Regions from separate parts of the Homo sapiens genome. Here region 2 is linked to region 1. The links are contacts of gene promoters, found by promoter capture Hi-C in human tissues and cell types (Jung and others, 2019). All regions are on one chromosome and are shown on one strand. The core of a region is centred on a gene start or on the middle of the fragment in contact, and the rest is flanking DNA. Distances in the headings are between cores, read along the strand shown. Region 1 holds the start of CFDP1 (craniofacial development protein 1). Region 2 has its middle 25 kb from the start of SYCE1L.

Region 1 (2,814 bases), core at 67-2,566:
GAAGCAGTTGTGGAACCAATCAGACATCATCCACACTTTTTTGTTCCACCTCCAATAGACTGGCAGATGGTTCACGTATTTCCCGTTAAGTGCTTGTGGATTTTGGGTTCTTTACACCATTAGGAGTTTGCACTTTAGTCGCTCTTGGCATTGGCGCACAATAACAAGGGTGCATGATCCTGGCATGATTTAAAGCCAGGGGCTTTGGAGGCCGTTTGCATTATATAGGTTCGTTTGCCAACATCCTTGTAAAATAAGCCAGTCTCATCCGCATTGAAAACCTGCTCTTTCACATAACCCTTTTCCTGTATAACACTTAGCAAGTATTTTTAAAATTCTTCCGCAGCCTCCTGATCTGCAGAGCTCGCCTCACCTGCAAGTTTAACATTTTTCACCCCGTATCGCCTTTTGAAACGCGCGAGCCGGCCAGCACTCGCCGAGAAGGGCTTAGCATTTCTTTGACTCTGGGTAACGTGACCACAGATATCTTTGGCTTTCAGCCTCACCACAATGCTGTCCACTATGTTTTTTTTAATCGATTGACATCTCATGAATCCACAAATTTAGCCGCTTTTCCATCTTTTCCATCTTTGTCATAGCTTCATCACGCACGATGGAGGTCACTTCAGCACTATCCGGAGCGGCCTCACGGACAGATCGGTGAATTTCCTTTTCCTTTTTCTTGATGTACCGGATTGTCGACTCGTTAACATTGAGCTCATGGCCAACAGCACTGTAACTCATGCCTGATTGGAGCTTATCCAACACGCGGACTTTCTCCGTAAGGCACATCACGGTCTTCTTTCGCTTAGGAACACTGGGCAGAGCTTAAGCACTACGCTTGGGGGCCATTTTAGAAAGCAAAACCACCCACAAAAAGCAGAAAAAAAAGTGTCAGTAAACAGACTGCGGAAAGGACTCTTTGTTTACAGCACAGGAGCTGCGACTAGAAGGCGGCGCTTCTCCCAGTTCAAACTTCAGCTGGGAACCTTACCTCCGCCAACTCCAAATTTTCACCCTCTGCGCATGCCCGGGAAGAACCCCAGACAGTACCGTGATGATTGATTTTAGGGTTACAAATACATTTTAGCAAGTAAGTGAATTTGGCATTACGAATTAATGATTAATGAAGGTCACCTGTATTTCCATAGATATGTAATTTTATTTAAGCAGGTTTATTATATTAAGGCGGCGAGGCAGCGCCGAAGACTACAAGTTCCAGCATGCACCGCGTCCGGGCGGGTTCGGGCTCCCAGCGAGGGCTTCAGGGACGCCAGCCCGGAGGCATCGGCCGGAAGTGTCGTAGGGCAACCACGTAGTACTCTCTGCGCATGTGCAAAGCGCTGTCGGGGGCCGCCCTAGCTGCCGTCGCCGCCGCCGGGGCTCTATGGTCTCTCCCTAGAGCTTTGCCGTTGGAGGCGGCTGCTGCGGTCTTGTGAGTTTGACCAGCGTCGAGCGGCAGCAACATGGAGGAATTCGACTCCGAAGACTTCTCTACGTCGGAGGAGGACGAGGACTACGTGCCGTCGGGTGAGCGATTCCGCCTGAGGCGAGAAGCGAATTGCCCCGCCCCACGCCTCACGTGAGGCGCGCTCTGCCCCCGCGGGCGTCTGCCCTGTGGCCCAGGTGGTCCAGGGGGGCTCCTGTTCTCGAGCGTCCGCTCCCTCAGGCCCCTCATCCTCGGCCGCTCCGGCCCGAGGCGTGTGCGCGTGGCGGTTCTGTGCTCCCCTCCCGTTGGGCAGCTCCGGCCGCCGCCCCCTCTTGCAGCGCGGGAACCGGCACATGGACACGGCCCCTTGTCGCTAGGGACGCTCGTCGGTCAGCCCCGAACGACACCGCTGCTTCAGAAGTCGGGGCGGCAGTCCGAGCCTTGGAGGTTTTTTTCAGCCCTGGCCCGAGAGAGCTGCTGGCCACCACCCCGTCCAAGATAGAGCTGTCCGCTCTCCGCCTGGTTGTTAGAAAGTTCTGATAGAAAGTTCCCCCTTTGATGCTTTTTGCCTCATTGTGACGTCCACCCATCCTCTCCTCTCAGAACTTTCTTTCCTTAGGGATCTCAACCCGAACGGGGTGAGAATGAATCTTACTGAAGAAATCTTTCTGTTCCCCCTTCTTGGTCTTCCCCAGACAAACCGTCTCGTTGAAAGTATCTTCACCCATTCACATCTTCAGTTGAAAGACTAGACAAACAAGAAACAAACAGACTAACAAAACACAACCCAGGAGTCGTCCCTATTCTCTTTGTTTTACTTTGTTCTGTTCTGTTTTATTTAAAGACAGGGTCTTGCTGTTGTCTAGGCTGGAGTGCAGTGATGCGATCTTGGCTCACTGCAACCTCAGACTCCTGGGCTCAAGCGATCCTCCCGTCTCAGCCTCTGGAGTAGCTGGGACTGCAGGTGCAGGCTGCCACGCCCGCTAATTTTTTAAATTTTTTTTTTTTTTTTTTTTTTTAGAAATGGCATCTTGCTATGTTGCCCAGGCTGGTCTCGAACTCGTGGGCTCAAGTGATCCTCCCACCTCAGCCACCCAAAGTGCTGGGATTACAGGCATGAGCCACCGCGCCCCGGCTAGTGAAGTATTTCTAAAAGGCACGTTGAAAACTAGCCATTCCATTCCTGGCGCGGTGGCTCATGCTTGTAATCCCAACACTTTGGGAGGCTGAGGTGGGTGGATCACAAGGTCTGGAGATCGAGACCATCCTGGACAACATGGTAAAACCCCGTCTGTACTAAAAACACAAAAATTAGCTGGGCATGGTGGCACGCGCCTGTAGTCCCAGCTCCTCAGGAGGCTGGAGCAGGAGAATCGCTTGAACTC
Region 2 (2,700 bases), core at 104-2,603, 1.8 Mb before region 1:
TGCCAAGATAGCCACTCTCTAGGAGAGCGTGTTGTAAGTGATAACACTCCTGGAGCCCCTGGACCTTGCATTTTGGTTTCCTATTCTCCTTATGTCCTAGTTAAGGTTCAGGTGTGCCAGTCAGGAGAGACAGAAGGAAAATGGGAAAACGAAATGCATGACATGAGAGATGACCAGCAGGAGCACGCCTTTATCAAGGTCTAGGGGCTCCAGGAGTGTTCTCACTTAGGCTTTCCACAGGGGGTTGTGAATTTGCTAGTTTAAGGAAAATACGTGTGAGAAAGGGAACTTACCTACACGACTCTGGTGTTGGCCACTGGGTTTTATCACAGTCAGCAGCTGTGGGATATGTTGGGTTTGGGTTCAGTGGGATGAGGAACAAGTGGGCTATATTGCAAACAGCCACATGGGGAGAGGAAGTTTTAACTAGACCAAAGGTGACAGGGTACAACTGGACTTCAAACAACTTATGTCAGGCCTAACAACGGATGCCAAGGCAGCAACTGCATTAAACAAGTTTATGACATAGACATAACCCAGAAATGGTCATCTCTATGCATACGCTTAGCTTGCATGGGAATAGAGATAGAATAATTGCTACTTCATGATCCACATCAGAGAAGGAATTGTTCTTTTGATAGAACCTATTCAAATGTATGTTGACTTTCTGCTTGGCATCTTGGAGCAATAGGAAGGTGTATATTTCTATTGCTGGAAAGCCCTCTCGATCTCACATTCAATCACCAGGTGCATGCAGGCCTAAGCCCCCTTTGGGGTGTGTAGGTAATCTCTATTTCCATGCCAGCACTGGCCTAGTTACAGTACTAGGAATTCGTTCTGAACAACTGCAACATTTCTGACTTCCACCTCCTTCTAGACTCCCAGGGCTGTCAACAAGTCGTGTCTTTCATCCTCATCAGGTCCTTTTACATTCCCACAGCAAGAAAGGAAAAGCAGCCCATGATGTATTTTTTTAACAAGCCACTGGGGATACCCTGGAGCCAGTATTAAAAAAGCACGCCTGGCTGAGCACGATGACTCACGCCTGTAATCCCAGCACTTTGGCAGGCCAAGGTGGGCGGATCACTTGAGGTCAGGAGCTCGAGACCAGCCTGGCCAACATGGTGAGACCCCTGTCTCTACTAAAAATACAAAAATTAGCCGGGCATGGTGGCACACACCTGTAATCCCGGCTACTCAGGAGGCTGAGGCAGGGGAATCACTTGAACTCGGGAGGCGGAGGTTGCAGTGAGCTGAGATCACACAAGTGCACTCCGGCCTGGGTGACAGAGCGAGACTCCATCTCAATAAATAAATAAATAAATAAATAAATAAATAAATAAATAAAAGCATGCCTCAAACTTACTCCAGCCAAACGCCAAAGGAGCTGGAGAATTTATGCACAGTAAGAGTCCTATCAAGGGAGAAAAACTATGCAATAATTTGAACAGATAAAGTTTAAAATACATCATTATTAACTAAAATGGGATATTGGGGCAGTGAGGGGTTCACTAGGAAAAAGCAAAGAAAACTCTGAAGCATACAGAAAGAGCCGACCTACGCAGCAGCTACTGCCTGCAGGGCTGAGCTGGAGCGTCCAAGGGAGACCCTCTACCCACAGGGTGAGGTCAGGTCCTAGTTGGACAGGTCATGGCTGTGACTCACTGAAGGGCAAAGAAGTTGCTGTAGTGCTGCCTTTGTAGAACTTTCTGGAAATCTGCCCTCTAAACCTTGCCAGAAATCCATCTTCTGAGGTGTTGGGGAACGTTGTTCATGGAGAGGTGTCTCACTAGAGTCACTGCTACAAAACTACCAAAGATGGTGTCTTGGGACGCTGCTGGCTGCCATGCGCTACAGGAACCTGCGCTGGAGAAGTCGTCCACCCTGCAGAAACCTACCTAGCCGGAAGACCAGAACCAAAGCAGAAACGTCTCCCTGGCGCCCTCTACTGAGCAAAGCTTAACATCGTGTCAGCTGGCAAAGGAAACTGTTTCAAGGGCCTGATCCATTTTCACAAGGCAGGTGGTAAAGGTGAATTTGGAGCTGAGAGGCAATACATTGTTAACTGGCATATACACCCAATCCTATCGGTCAATAGATGAAGACTGTTCTGAGGCTTAGGGAGGCAGAAATTCATTCTGCAACACTTCTAGCCCACCAGACAAATAGGCCAGGCATACTTCAGCATCCATGTCATGGAAAAATGTCATGGAAAGGAATTTATGTCCTGGCAGATGGAAGCCGGCCTGGCGTGCAATGAGGTGTAAGACAAGTGAGTACAGGTAGGCGCTGACCCTATCTGCTAGAATCAGTATTCCATTTTCCACCTGCAATAAGATCATGATTGTGTTCATGCACAAGCAGGCCAACCCCAACCAGAATCCCATAGGAAGATGTGTTTCCTGGCACTTCTCCTGGTAGCAAGATTGTCAGTCAGGGTCTAATCAGATAAAAAGATAGAATTTATTTAAAGCAGAGGGAATATAATTGCAGGTGTGATTGTTAATTTTAATGTGTCAACTTGACTGGGATAGGAGACAGCCAGAGAGATAGAAAAATATTACTTCTGGTTGTGTCTGTGAGGCTGTTTCTGGAAGAGAGTAGCATTTGAATCAGTCCACTAAGGGAAGAAGACTCACCCACACCGGTGTTGCGGAGCATCACCTCATCTATTGAGGGCCCATCTAAATAAGACAAAAA

Evidence for each region. The method cuts DNA at HindIII sites, captures the fragments that hold promoters and counts their contacts. A contact is called where the count stands out against the background at its distance.
Region 2: a fragment that was not itself captured here is called in contact with the fragment with the promoter of CFDP1 in region 1 in 1 of the 25 tissues and cell types used here (hippocampus).

Annotation. Positions count from the first base shown.
Region 1 is chr16:75,432,005-75,434,818 of GRCh38, reverse strand. CFDP1 (craniofacial development protein 1) reads left to right here and starts at 1,316. Exons shown (of 7, transcript NM_006324.3): 1 at 1,316-1,530. The coding sequence starts at 1,467. RefSeq lists enhancers at 710-1,277, 821-1,330 and a silencer at 1,641-1,880. The HindIII fragment of the contact is 15,991 bases long and covers 1-2,814 here.
Region 2 is chr16:77,222,576-77,225,275 of GRCh38, reverse strand. No RefSeq gene overlaps it. Among named protein-coding and RNA genes, the nearest start is that of SYCE1L, 25 kb to the right of the region's middle. The HindIII fragment of the contact is 3,579 bases long and covers 1-2,700 here.